Regions from separate parts of the Homo sapiens genome. Here region 2 is linked to region 1. Evidence: promoter capture Hi-C in human tissues and cell types (Jung and others, 2019). All regions are on one chromosome and are shown on one strand. Each heading gives the region's core, a stretch centred on a gene start or on the middle of the fragment in contact. The rest is flanking DNA. Distances are from core to core; before and after follow the strand shown. Region 1 holds the start of CDC16 (cell division cycle 16). Region 2 overlaps RASA3 (RAS p21 protein activator 3).

What was found. Contacts are between HindIII fragments. The study calls those that stand out against the background at their distance.
Region 2: a fragment that was not itself captured here is called in contact with the fragment with the promoter of CDC16 in region 1 in 1 of the 25 tissues and cell types used here (lymphoblastoid cells).

What each region holds. Positions count from the first base shown.
Region 1 is chr13:114,231,444-114,238,821 of GRCh38, forward strand. CDC16 (cell division cycle 16) reads left to right here and starts at 3,454. Exons shown (of 18, transcript NM_001078645.3): 1 at 3,454-3,689; 2 at 5,202-5,256; 3 at 5,356-5,453. The coding sequence starts at 3,642. RefSeq lists an enhancer at 3,253-3,302 and a silencer at 3,413-3,772. The HindIII fragment of the contact is 10,274 bases long and covers 1-7,378 here.
Region 2 is chr13:114,077,838-114,085,215 of GRCh38, forward strand. The region is part of intron 1 of RASA3 (RAS p21 protein activator 3); the gene reads right to left. Among named protein-coding and RNA genes, the nearest start is that of RASA3-IT1, 28 kb to the right of the region's middle. RefSeq lists an enhancer at 5,354-6,553. The HindIII fragment of the contact is 8,329 bases long and covers 1-7,378 here.

The DNA of each region.
Region 1 (7,378 bases), core at 2,204-4,703:
GGATCGTGCGGGTGGAGTGCCCATTGCTGCTGGAGGTGGGGCTGGTGGGAGGTGGTTGGATCGTGCGGGTGGAGTGCTCGTGAAGGGTTTAGCACCATCCTCTACTTGGGACTGTATAGTGAGTGAGTTCTTGTGAGGCCTGGTTGTTGAAAAGTGTGTGGCACCTGCCCCCTCTCTCCCTTTCTCTTGTTCTGGCCAGGTAAGTTGTGTCTGCTTCCCCTTCGCCTTTCGCCATGATTGTAAGTTTCCTGAGACCTGCACAGAAGCAGAAGCAGCTATGCTTCCTGTACAGCCTGCAGAACAGTAAACCAATTAAACCTCTTTTCTTATAAATTACCCAGTCTCAGGTGTTTCTTTTTATCTTTTTTTTTTTTGAGACGGAGTTTCACTCTTGTTGCCCAGGCTGGAGTGCAGTGGTGCAATCTTGGCTCACTGCAACCTCCGCCTCTGGGGTTCAAGTGACTCTCCTGCCTCAGCCTCCCGAGTAGCTGGGACTACGGGCATCTGCCACCATACCCGGCTAATTTTTTGTAGTTTTAGTAGAGATGGGGTTTCAGTATGTTGCCCAGGCTGGTCTTGATCTCCTGACCTCACATGATCCAGCTGCCTCGGACTCCCAAAGTGCTGGGATTAAAGGAATGAGCCACCGGGCCTGGCCTCAGGTGTTTCTTTACAGGAATGTGAGAACAGGCTAATACAGAAAATTGGTACTGAAAAGTGGGGCATTCGTATGAAGATACCTGAAAATGCGGAAATAACTTTGGAACTGGGTAATGGGCAGAGGTTGGAAAAATGTGGGGGGCTCAGAAGAAGACAAGAAGATGGGGGAAAATTTGGAACTTCCTAGAGACTTTTAAATTGTTGTGACCCAAATGCTGATAGTGATATGGAGAGATGGGCAGGCTGATAAGGTCTCAGATAGAGATGAGAAACTTACTAGGAACTGAAGCAAAGGTCACTTTTGCTGTGCATTAGCAAAGAACCTGGCAGCATTGTGCCCCTGCTCTAGGGATCTCTGGAACTTTGAACTTGAGAGTGATGAGTTAGGGTATCTGGCAGAGGACTCCTGAAAGTGATTTCTGTTAAATCTCGCCCTGGCAATATTAATTACAAATTTACCTTCCAGGTACAAAACAAGGACAAGATGAGATTAGTCACTCTTCTGCCTACCCTGATATGGGCTACATAACTCTTTCCTCTACTCCCTCTTGTCAGATGTTTGCCTCATCTTATGTAAATTGTTGGTTTACTGAGCACTAATCAGAGCATCACTGTGGACCCCTCCCTTTTTTTCCTCCTGCTTGCCGTCTCCTCCTAAACACCCAGTCCCCATAACCCTATTTGGATGGCACAGTTGATGCTTCTGTGGCTTGCGTTTTTCCCGGGCCCATCATCAGACTTCTACTGATGGAGACATTTGCCTCAGTCACTCATTTTTGGTTAACTAGGAATCTCATTAAATGGATAGAAGTCGTTGAAAATATGGCTTAAAACACACCTCACCACATGCCTGCCCCAAGTTAATGAGCAGAGTTGATTACTGCCTGCTTGCAGAAGTGGGAAAGGAGGAGGAAAAGGAAATATACAGGGGGACAAATTTTTAAACACAACTTCAAAATATTACCCAGTCATATATGTATACACACACATAGAAAATTACACGGCAGATTACTTACAGTAGCGTGAGAGAATTTTTGAGTGGGTGGGATTCTTTACAGCAAGTTTTTTTTTTTTTGCTTCTTTGAATTTTTTTTACTCTTTTAGGTTTTTATATTTATAAAAGTTATATTTACTTTTTAAAAGTGTCAACCTTAATATTGAGATTCAGAAATATGATTACATATAGTGTGTATTTGAGCACAGAGCCTGAGAATGGCCACCTGGACAAATGGGGTCAGCCTTTCCAAGTGGAGCTCAGGTCTCTCTTACCAGGCGGAGACAGAAGCTCCAGCAGGATCACCACAGTTCTCATATGAGACCAGGGGCACACGCCGCAGCGGTTCCATTGGTTAGGGATCTCTGTATTTGAAGGAAGATTGCGTTATAACTCCATGAGGAGGGGTAGTGATCTGAGGGGGTCTTATCTCCGGTGCCATTTGGTCTTTATTGTTTACAGGGAAAAAGGCAGAAGTTACAGCTGGGTGTGGCATGACCTAGGCCGCGTAGCCACATTCCCCTCAAGGCTCAGGTAATTCAAAGTTCCAACAGCTTCAAGTTTAAATTATTTTAAGTTTGAATGATTTAATTTCACAAAAGGTAATATATGCACATTGACTGAAATTCAAAAGCACAAAAAGATATCCAAGGAAGTACCTCTCCCACTTCTACCATCTCTCATCTTCCAGCACTCCTTCCAGAGGCCTTGCGCTATGCCGGTTTTCTCATTTTTCCTTCCTGGGACAGTTTAGGGATTTTTCTACCTATCATTAAATTCGTATTTTACTCAAATGCAGGCATACGATAAACACGATCCTATACTTGCTTTTTCCCACATACTATATCTTGAAGATCGTTCAATGTCCATGCAAAGCTGACTGTTCTTTTGAACAGCCAGCGAGTATTCCATTACGTGAGCGTATCATGACCTATTTACTCAGTTCCATACTTCATGGGTGTTTAAATTGTCTGCAATCTTTTGCTATTACAAACGAAACCACAGGTCATTTTGCACACATGCAAAAATGCAAATCCATGGTATATTTCCCAAAATAAAAATCATTAGGTTTAACAGCACGAACACCTTTAAATTTGGAAGATATTCCAATTCGTTCATCCTAGAGAGTATACCAATACCACTCACAAAACTTGAGGGTGCCTGCTTCCCGACATTCCTGCTAGCAGTGTCATCAACCTTTGTGATCTTTGTTAACATATGAAAAGTGGTACTCTAATTTTAATTTTTATTATGAATTAAGTTGGACTTTCTTTCGTATGTTAAAGTCTATTTGCATTTCTTTCCCTGTGAACTGTTTTTTGCCTGTCTTTCTCCTGAGCCATTGGTCTCTTCCCACTGACTTATTACATATATGTAAAGGGAATATTGGCTCTACATTATAAGGAAATTCGAATTTTGTGATAGGTTTCAAATTTTTCCCTAGGTTGTCTTTGACTTCATTTGCTGTTTGTGCACACAATTTTTTTTTTTTGTAATGAGAGTGCGTTGCTCTTATTTTTAAAATGTTGACTACATTCTGGGGAAAGAAGGCTCAGCAGCCACCTGCTTTTTTGCCCGGGTGGGTGGTCCGGCCCCGAGCCCTCCTGACTCTCTCGCCAATGCCCAGAGGCGCCGCAGCGATTCCAGGGAGGCCGCGCTCTCGCCCCAAGGCAACCAGAAGCCCACGTGCCAGGAGAGGCATCGGAACCAACAACTCGGGTCCGTTTTCCCGCGCCAGATGGGATTCGTTTGCTGTGGACTTCCGGGGCGGGGCCTGCCTGGAGCGGAAGAGCCTGGGCAGTGCACGGGGCCTGGGTGGGGGGTGCGGGTGTGGGTGGGGACCTGCGGCCTTCGAGTCCGCGGCCTTCGAGTCCTGGGGCGGCGGCGGCGGCTGCAGGCACGGGCACGGGCACGGGGCGGGGTGCTTAGGGTGCAGGAGGCGCGCGCCTAGCGGCGGAGTGTGGCGTGAGGCCGGGCCCGCGCCGCCATGAACCTAGAGCGGCTGCGGAAGCGCGTCCGGCAGTACCTCGACCAGGTGGGCGGCCCCGACTCGGGGTGCGGGGCCCAGGCCTCGCCGGGTCTTTTTCCGCGCGGCGTGGGGCTGGGGTGACTGTTGTCGGGGCTCTTGGTGGGGAAGGACTGGGCCGGCCCTGGGCCTTCATCTGGGGCCAGCAGCGCTGTCTCCGCCTCGCCCAGAAGGGAGCGGTCCCTGCAGCTGGGAGGGGCACAGCCCGGGGAGTGGAGGCCCCCGAGCGCACGGGGCGCCTCAGTCGGGTCTGAGCCTCGTTCTGCACCTGGCGCGGAGGAGGTGCCCAGGAAACACTGACTACTCAGTGCAAGTTGAAGGACAATTTTTGGAGGAAAGTTGCAGGGCTAGCTAATAAAACATTTTTGAGAGGTTTAGTTGTAATTTTTACTGGGCTGAATTTAAGTGAATAAAGATGTGAAGAAGCCTGTTGTCTCAAATCAATACTTTAAAAATTCTCGTTAACTATGTCTGTGTTCTCTGCACTACCTTTGAATAGCAGAGAGCGTTTAAGGCAAGAAGTGTCTTCGAGAATCAGCAGCATCAGTTTTATCTATATTGTTGTTTATTTTTTGTTGAAATGCTTGCTCTTTCAGGAAATTGGAAAGAAAGGGAAAGAAAAGCCATGGTAATGCAGAGTTTTCGGAATTGGGTGCTAACTGACGTGGCCAAATGTTTGCAGTCCATTTGGAGGGCTGTGTTTTTATTTACCATGAGTCAGTTGAATTCAGTGTTTTCTGATCACTTTTTCTTCGGTACGGAGACGTAGTGAGGAATATGACAGGCCCGGTTTCCAGCCAGAGACACCGGTATTGAGCATATTTATAACTATCCCGTTGGCATTCCTCCTGCCTCGGGCTAGCAGCAGTGGTCCTGGCTTGTCTCCAGGGGAACTGAGGCAGAGACTGTAGAAGACTGAGGACTGAGGAGCAGAACAGGGTCTAAAGCTAGCCGTAGGTCACTGTGGGTGGCCCTCATTGTCGGCTCCTTCATTTTTGTTAGACTTGGAGGAGGTGAGTTCTTCCCCATGTTCAGTGAAGCTTAGTTAATTTATGTGTGTGTGTTTTTAAACTTGAGTGTTATTAAAACTGCCACTGTGTTATATAAGGTATTTGAGTATAGTGTTCTGTCTTCTAAATTTCACTTTGGGATTCATTAACAGCTCGTTGAAAGTGTTATATAAATCACACATGAATTGTTAATGACTAGCTTTTGCTGTTTCACTTGCATTTCACTTGTATGTTTCACGATACATTTTTACAGTGTATGAGTTTTAAAAAATTACCTTCATAAGTTGCATATACAAAGATATTACAGGAATGTTTGTATTGCGACACTGAACTAAAATTTACCCTACGTGAGATGTAAGATAGAGATGTAACAAATTGTTGTCTTGAGATGAAGATTTATTACATAGAATTATATTAATATATTACATAGAATTATAATAATATTAGATAACTGTTTAAGACTATTAAAATAACAGGGCAGTTACCACCTTTTTTTTTTTTTGGTATGCAGCAACAGTATCAAAGTGCTCTATTTTGGGCAGATAAAGTAGCTTCACTCTCTCGTGGTAAGTGACAAAATGCTAACTGGTTTTCTGATTAATCTTAAAATTCGTTTTCTATTTCACCTTGTACCTCTGACCACTTATGTGAATTTTTCCCTCCAGAAGAACCCCAGGACATCTATTGGTTGGCTCAGTGTCTTTACCTGACAGCACAATATCACAGAGCCGCCCATGCACTTCGGTCACGAAAACTGGACAAAGTAAGTGATGGTATGAACTTTAAAGCTCTTCAGAGCTTTAAAAAAAATGTCATTAGTGGCCGGGCGCGGTGGCTTACACCTGTAATCCCAGCGCTTTGGAAAGCCAAGGCAGGTGGATCATGAGGTCAGGAGCTCAAGACCAAGATGGTGAAACCCCATCTCCGCTAAAAATACAAAAATTAGCCGGACGTGGTGGCAGGCGCCTGTAATCCCAGCTACTCGGGAGGCTGAGGCAGAGAATTACTTGAACCTGGGAGGTGGAGGTTGCAGTGAGCTGAGTTCGTGCATTGCACTCCAGCCTGGACAACAGAGCAAGACTCTGTCTCAAAAAAAAAAAAAGTCATTAGGGTTTTAGGTGTATATTCCATTTCTGTTGAAATTATTTAACTTGATGCAATTTTTCTTTGTTTTTGTTTTTTTGAGGTCTCTCTGTGTCACCCAGGAGTGCAGTGGGATGATCGTGGCTCACTATAACCTCAGACTCCTGAGTTCAAGTGATCCTTCTGCCTCAGCCTCCCTAATAGCTGGGACTACAGGTGCATGCCACCACACCCAGCTAATTTTTAAATTTTTTTGGTAGAGACAGAGCCTCACTATGTTGCCCAGGCTAGTCTTGAACTCCTGGTCTCAAGCAGTCCTCCCGCCTTGGTCTCCCAAAGTGCTGGGATTATAGATGTGAGTCATCACAGTAGGCCCAGTTTTTTTTTAGTGAAAGTGAAGGGAAAATGTCTTATACCTAATCTGTCACCTTCTTTTTCCCCCATCTCCCATCTAGTCTCTAAATTCTGAAGACTGTTTTCTAAACAGCTCTGGAATCATGGATATTCCTCTTCCTCCCCACTCGTACGTGTCAGGCCTTTGATTTTTTTGTCTGTTCTGTTACAGCCTCTCTTCTTGTCTCTTTTCCCCAGTAACAGTTTCTCTCTTCTTATCTTCCCTGTCACAAGTTCATCTTGTGAACTATTACAGGAGTGAGTAGTCTTTAAAACACGGATGTGGTTATATTCCCACAAAGTCATTCAGTGACTTCCCATTAGCTGCAGGATAAAGTCAGATGCATCAGTAGGTCTGTGAGGCCCTCCTTGTTTTCTCTCCACTCTGCGTCTAATCCACCACCATCAATACCTGGAGCACGTGCTCCAGTCACGTGGTGCTGCTGTGAGCTCCTTGGACACCCAGCAGTTATTCACACTCAGGGCCTGAAGTGGAGCTGCTGCGATCTCCTTGGACGCCCAGCAGTTATTCACACTCAGTGCCTGAAGTGGAGCTGCTGTGAGCTCCTCGGACGCCCAGCAGTTATTCACACTGAGGGCCTGAAGTGGAGCTGCTGCGATCTCCTCGGACGCCCAGCAGTTATTCACACTCAGTGCCTGAAGTGGAGCTGCTGTGAGCTCCTCGGACGCCCAGCAGTTATTCACACTCAGGGCCTGAAGTGGAGCTGCTGCGATCTCCTCGGATGCCCAGCAGTTATTCACACTCAGTGCCTGAAGTGGAGCTGCTGCGAGCTCCTCGGACGCCCAGCAGTTATTCACACTCAGGGCCTGAAGTGGAGCTGCTGCGAGCTCCTCGGACGCCCAGCAGTTATTCACACTCAGGGCCTGAAGTGGAGCTGCTGCGATCTCCTCGGACGCCCAGCAGTTATTCACACTCAGTGCCTGAAGTGGAGCTGCTGCGATCTCCTTGGACCCCCAGCAGTTATTCACACTCAGTGCTTGAAGAGCTACCCAGTGCTCCACTCCTCTGCCTGACCACTTACTCGCTGCCTCACTTACTCGCTCTCCTGCAGATGTTTACTTCTCCACCTGGTTGATGCTTTCTGTTGCCCCGTTTCGTCATGCTTACCTGTTGTGCTTAGTTCACATCTCCCCTACTGTAACCTCCTGGGGCAGGGCCTTACTGCTTTTGAATCCTTGGTGCCTAGTAAA
Region 2 (7,378 bases), core at 2,212-4,711, 150 kb before region 1:
ACTCTTTCTTTTTAATCTACTTTTGCTATGATGCATTTAATAAAAAAAAAAGTGGGGGGACAAAATGCAAGCCCATTTCCCTGCCTCAGGCTTCTGATGCCATCACCTCCAAGGCACTGGTTTTGTTTCCAACTGTTAATAAAGCATTGAAACAGAAAAAAAAAAAAAAAACTCCTGAGAAACATCCTGGTTGCTATGACGACAGCAACACCAGGGAGCCTGCTGGACGCACCAACATCCAATGAGCTGCTCAGACCAGGAGGGCTGGGGCTGCTGCAGCACGGCCTGGCCACGTCGCCCCGGGGCCTCGCCGTGTGTGCCACATGCACCAGGACCGAGCCTCTCCCTGCAGCCCCACAGCTGAGCGGGACGGGGGCTGCCCCAGCTCCCAAGCAACTGTTTCTTCTCCACCGCACCCCAAACAGTTCATTCAGTTACCTTCACCAAAGGTGCCTGTTCTGTCTCTCTTAGAGGAAACACGTTTTCTCTTTTTTTTCTGGTGCACAGAGACGTTCATATAAAAAGACAAAGCTGTCTGTGGTATACAGTAAGTACCTAATTATCTGTTGCATGCATGGATGAATAAATGAATTAAAAGAAAAGTAAACTGGTTTCATCCTAACAGCCAAATAAGTAACAGTTCTCATGACCACTTTTCCCACAGACCATGCCTCTAAAACATATGCGGTGTGTTCACCAGCCGGCAGACTGATGAAGACAGCCAACACAGCACCTCGCATCGGCTCTGAAAACTCAACTAACAGGAGTAAAAGGCAGCACTTAAACACATTTAATGTAAACAGCATAACACCGCAAAACCTGATTTCCAACTCCAGGGATCAGGCAGTGAGTAACAAAAACAAAGGCCCTGATCCAAAGCGTCATGACTCCCACGCCCACGGCAGCCCTTCTGGGCCATGGAGGGAAGCTGCACCCTCAGGGTGAGCACAGGCCCAGCCCTGACCGAGGGTTAGGATGCCCAGGCTTCCCTGGAGGCCCACACAGGGTCTCCAAGTGCTGACAGCGAGCTGTCGGGGCTGCCCGCAGCACCCGGAGCCACACCCCTGTACCCAGGAGGAGCTGTGAGGGCATGGGGAGGTCTCCACAGACCCCACCCAGCACTGCTCCTCCCTGCAGGCATCCTGGGGAGGGCCCTCAGGCGGGGCTGGCCTCATGTACTGCTCAACACAGCAGCGGGCGTCTCCCAGGCGCTCAGCAGCTCAGCTCAGCGCCCAGTGAAGAGGGCGGAGGAAGGAATGAAGGCAGCCACGGGTGAGGACGAGGGCCCAGGGCTCCACTGAGCAAAGCTCCTGGCACCAACCCAGACAGAAGACGTCCTGGAGAGGCCAGGGCTGTGCTGGTACTGGCCGCGTCCACCCAGGCTGGGCGCTCTTCTCTTTCCCACGTCATCACGGCGTTTTACTCAACTACAGGTCGGCCTCACTGAAATAACGTGGAACAGGTGATGGCGACAGCCCCGGTGCATGGTCCAGCGAAAGCAACCCCGTCCCAGCAATAAAGCCCAGGGCCTGTTGGGGAAGGAGACCCTGCGGGAGAATTGGAGGAAGTGCGGCTCTCAAGGCTCCCAACCTCAGCCTTTTAGTCGTCCCAACGCAAAACATTCAAAGGGGCCTAAAAATTTTGCTAGGCACACAGCGTCTTCTAACAACATAAAGTATTTACCGGAACAATAGTCTTGTGACTAAAATATCTGAATAAAGGATGAAGAGCCCCGTCTACTTTGGGCTATTTAGAAGCCTGGAACAGCGATCCCAGCCCTGGCCCCTGGGATCCTCACTCGAACAGGTCCTCCTCCAGGCCCTGGCAGGGTCTCAGTGAGGCACAGAAGCCTCTGTGCCATGCGTGGGTAGAGACCCCTCTCCGGGCTCTGAGCTGCTGACTGCAAGGCCCATGTGCCCCCTGGCTCCTGTTCGCCTCTGGACACGGGGGCTCCGTGACTGGCCTCTGAGTGGGCCTGAGTGCCCGTCCGCACTGGCCTCCCCACCCGGCACCCTCCGTGGGACGAGGCTGCACATCTCGGTGGGCTGACTGCGGTGCAGAGGCCATAAGAGGAAGAGGCGGGGGGGCCCCGAGGCAGGGGACACAGCGTCTTGAGGACACAGCATGACCCTGACCCCCACGACCCCTGGCAACACAAGTGCCTTCCCGAAGGGCCTGCGAAGCTGCCAGAAATAGGCAGAACTCGGCGAGGCCGTGGGAGTGGGGTTTCCTCTGGGCCGAGTCGAGGGCAGACGGCACCTGCTCTATCCTCACGCTCAGGAGGGGCAGAGGCCGCTGGGCTTGGATGGAGCCAGGCCCAGGTCTTGTCCAGGGCTCTCCAGGGCACCATGCTCCTCCCTCAAGAGGACTCCTGTGGGTTATGAATGACAGAAGCCCAGGCTGCCATCCTCAAGCAAGGCACCCCCCAATCCTCCTGGCCGGGAGGGGCTGCTGGGAGCCCCTGGCACCAGCGGGCTTCTGTGGGCGGTGGAAGGAGGAGAGGGCTGTGCGGGCTGATTCCAAAACTCACTGGGTGACACCACCTGCCCAGGGAGGGCCCAGCACTGCCGTCCAGGGGGTCTGCCTGTCGTCCAGTCTCCTTGAGAGCACCTCCAGCTCCCTCCAGTCTCCACGGCTCTTCAGAGGGCACGGGAGGTTCTGCTGAGGGGCGGGTGACCAGGCCCAGATGTTAAACCCTCCCAAATAACGGGCATATTCAATGTAATTGAAACTTCCACCACAGGGAGAATGAGTCTATGGTGACGGGGTGGCAGGAGGGGTCCTAGAAGGCGCCCACTGTGCTTACTGGAGGCCTGACCCCGACAACGGCTGAAACAGGGGTCTCCCCCAGGGGCCACTGAAACAGGGGTCTCCCCCAGGGGCCACCTCCCAGGGCACGCTTGGATTTCACTATGGGCTGTGCAAATGGCATCTGGTGGGCAGAGTGCAGGGTGTCTTCTGTTCAGTGTCCTGCTGCACACGGTGCCCCAGGGCACAGGGCCGTCCACCTAGAACACCAATAGTGCCGTGTGGCAGAGGGCCGTCCACCCAAAACACCAATAGTGCCCCTCGGCAGAGGGCCGTCCACCTAGAACACCAATAGTGCCCCTCGGCAGAGGGCCGTCCACCTAGAACACCAAGAGTGCCCCTCGGCAGAGGGCCGTCCACCTAGAACACCAAGAGTGCCCCACGGCAGAGGGCCGTCCACCTAGAACACCAAGAGTGTCCCACGGCAGAGGGCCGTCCACCTAGAACACCAATAGTGCTGCGTGGCAGAGGGCCGTCCACCCAAAACGCAACAGTACCCCAGTTACACGCTCCTGGTGCAAATGACCCTCCTCTCGTGCTTGGTGCAAAGGCTGTTAGCAACGGGCCACACAGGAGATGCTGCCACGTCACTCCAGAGACTCACGCGTCCCGAGACCCAAGTGATCCCTAAACGTCTAGGAGGAGACCTGGCCTTGGAGCCAGGTCAGCCAGAAGGTTGTCCAGGCCGGGCCTCCCCAGGGCTGCCCAGTCTCCCGATGCAGTATAACTCTCAAGGCGCGGGGGCCGCATCACCCAGCACTCTGGAAATGCTGTCCGCAGACCACGGCCACCAGCACATGCACTCTCGTGGTTCTGACTGCCTGTGAATCCAGCTGGTCTACAATGAGCCGCTGGGGAAAATACTTCAAGTCCTGAGATGAATGGAGCAGGAATGCCTCTGGAATATCCTGAGAAACACGACTCCAAACCCTGTCAGCTGGTTCTAACTGTGCTCACTCTTATAAACAGGTAATAAAATATGGGAAAGAAGGCGATTGCAGACAGGGGACCTCTCCTCCACAGAGACGTGTCCACCAGGAGACTGAGGCAAATCCTATGGGTTCAAAACCGAAGTTTCACTGGCGGCTGAAAACACCCAGGGAATAACGAGGAAAGAGAAGGCAAAGGTGGGCTGAAATGAAGCCGCCCTTCTGAGTTCACAAAGGAGCAGAGACACACCGGTGCTGCACAGGAACCCCCAGGGCCCCCGTGTTCCTAGCGCAGCAGAGCCTGCCCCGCATCCAGGCTGCATCTCCTGGGGCTGTGACTCCTCTCCTGAGTCCACACACAGGACCTCACACCTGCACTCACCGGCTGCAGCTGCACACACAGGAGAGCTTCTCACAGGACAAATGCCTGGACCCCACCCAGAGATTGCCATTCTTTGACTAGGACGGGCTCCAGGCAGTAAGAACAGACATTCGTCTTGATTAGAAAGCCTGCAGGTGGTTCTGGGTGCAGCCAGGACTGAGAGGCATTACTTACTGCTGAGAACTGAGAAGGTGTGAAGATGCCCCTACCTCCTCGCCCCACTCACCGGGGAGCTGCGGGTCTCACAGGGGCAGGCAGGAGGCCAGAGACGTCCACGTCTGAGACAAAGGACATCACCGCAACAGCAGAGCCAGAGCTGCAGCGTCTGCAGGTGCCCTGGTTTGCCTCACGCAGTACCAAATTGGGATTGGGAACCCAGTGATGCCTGCACACATATCGGCTGCACCTTGGGAGCAGGGCCTGAGCCTGGGGAACCCTAGTCTCTTATAACGGGCAGTGGCAACAATGCTGACATCTGCCTCGGAGAGAGATGCTTTCTTCCTGATCACGGACAGTGGGCAAACCTCCCTGTGCTCCGAGGCTCCGAGGCTGCTCCCCGGGTGGACACACGCGCTTGAATGGAGAGTGAGGAACAAAGGGAACTGGGTCTTTCTCCCTTGATGCGCCGCACTGAGATAAAACCATGAAGAACGTCTCCCAGCTGCGTCCCGTCTGGGGGCAGCCCCAGAGAAGGAATGGGGGGCAGGGAAAACAACTTTCCTTAACCCAAGCAACGTTTAGTTCACACCCAGCCTGTACGCAAGAGGGGAAGGGACAGGCCTGGGGCTGCACCCCCAGGTGGGTGGTCCCAACAGAGGTTTAACAACCTGGTTCTCTAGGGGAAAAATGCATGCACGAGCTCAACTAGGTTAAGTCATACATTGCACTAGTGTAAAAGATGTGTAGCACACAACTCACAAAAAATAATGAGATACACAGTCCTCTACTTCAAACTCACAGAGCTAATTGATTCTCACAGCAAACTCTTGTCTCTAAGCCAATCCTGGGCTGCATTTAACCAGGATTTGACAAACAGAGGCAACGCACCCTCTGCTAGCTGGTTCTCAAAAAGTGCGTCATCACTGAGTGTGATATGTGTCGACCATTAAAACATTTCTCCCACTCATACAAATTATATTAAGCTGACATCTCTTCTGGCTTTCACACTGGGAATGCTGGCGCTTCACTCATTCATCAATGTCACAAGCAACTTTGTTGAATCAGGTGAAGTTTTAAATGCCAGAAAAACATTGTCTTAATTTTTTTGTGCTATTGCAGTGTAACCGCTATATACAAGATTATTTAATTCAGGGTAGCAAGATTAGATGATCAACAAAACCTTTGTTCAAACGTGAGCTCAATTTCCTCCGATGTGTGGCCCATCCTGATTTCTGTGGTGTGAACATTCCTGGCCGATTTCAAGCGACCAGTGTGGCCCCAAAGCCAGAGAGAGGAGAGCAGGGCCCCGTTCAGAGGCACCCACACCTCCAGAAGCACCCAGCCAGACAGCCTGGAGCCCAGCAGCAATGGCGTGCCGTGAAATCACAGGAAGTGCTGAGTCTGGAGTATCGACTCCCTTCGTCCTCGCGGGGAAATCACGGGGAAGTGGTGAGTCTGGAGTATCGACTCCCTTCGTCCTCGCGGGGAAATCACGGGGAAGTGGTGAGTCTGGAGTATCGACTCCCTTCCTCCTCGCGGGGAAATCACGGGGAAGTGGTGAGTCTGGAGTATCGACTCCCTTCGTCCTCGCGGGGAAATCACGGGGAAGTGGTGAGTCTGGAGTATCGACTCCCTTCGTCCTCGCGGGGAAATCACGGGGAAGTGGTGAGTCTGGAGTATCGACTCCCTTCCTCCTCGCGGGGAAATCACGGGGAAGTGCTGAGTCTGGAGTATCGACTCCCTTCGTCCTCGCGGGGAAATCCCGGGGAAGTGCTGAGTCTGGAGTATCGACTCCCTTCCTCCTCGCGGGGAAATCCCGGGGAAGTGCTGAGTCTGGAGTATCGACTCCCTTCGTCCTCGCGGGGAAATCCCGGGGAAGTGCTGAGTCTGGAGTATCGACTCCCTTCGTCCTCGCGGGGAAATCCCGGGGAAGTGCTGAGTCTGGAGTATCGACTCCCTTCCTCCTCGCGGGGAAATCACGGGGAAGTGCTGAGTCTGGAGTATCGACTCCCTTCCTCCTCGCGGGGAAATCCCGGGGAAGTGCTGAGTCTGGAGTATCGACTCCCTTCCTCCTCGCGGGGAAATCCCGGGGAAGTGGTGAGTCTGGAGTATCGACTCCCTTCCTCCTCGCGGGGAAATCCCGGGGAAGTGCTGAGTCTGGAGTATCGACTCCCTTCCTCCTCGCGGGGAAATCCCGGGGAAGTGCTGAGTCTGGAGTATCGACTCCCTTCCTCCTCGCGGGGAAATCCCGGGGAAGTGCTGAGTCTGGAGTATCGACTCCCTTCCTCCTCGCGGGGAAATCCCGGGGAAGTGCTGAGTCTGGAGTATCGACTCCCTTCCTCCTCGCGGGGAAATCACGGGGAAGTGCTGAGTCTGGAGTATCGACTCCCTTCCTCCTCGCGGGGAAATCCCGGGGAAGTGCTGAGTCTGGAGTATCGACTCCCTTCCTCCTCGCGGGGAAATCCCGGGGAAGTGCTGAGTCTGGAGTATCGACTCCCTTCGTCCTCGCGGGGAAATCCCGGGGAAGTGCTGAGTCTGGAGTATCGACTCCCTTCGTCCTCGCGGGGAAATCCCGGGGAAGTGCTGAGTCTGGAGTATCGACTCCCTTCGTCCTCGCGGGGAAATCCCGGGGAAGTGCTGAGTCTGGAGTATCGACTCCCTTCGTCCTCGCGGGGAAATCCCGGGGAAGTGCTGAGTCTGGAGTATCGACTCCCTTCCTCCTCGCGGGGAAATCCCGGGGAAGTGCTGAGTCTGGAGTATCGACTCCCTTCCTCCTCGCGGGGAAATCCCGGGGAAGTGCTGAGTCTGGAGTATCGACTCCCTTCGTCCTCGCGGGGAAATCCCGGGGAAGTGCTGAGTCTGGAGTATCGACTCCCTTCGTCCTCGCGGGGAAATCCCGGGGAAGTGCTGAGTCTGGAGTATCGACTCCCTTCGTCCTCGCGGGGAAATCCCGGGGAAGTGCTGAGTCTGGAGTATCGACTCCCTTCGTCCTCGCGGGGAAATCCCGGGGAAGTGCTGAGTCTGGAGTATCGACTCCCTTCGTCCTCGCGGGGAAATCCCGGGGAAGTGCTGAGTCTGGAGTATCGACTCCCTTCGTCCT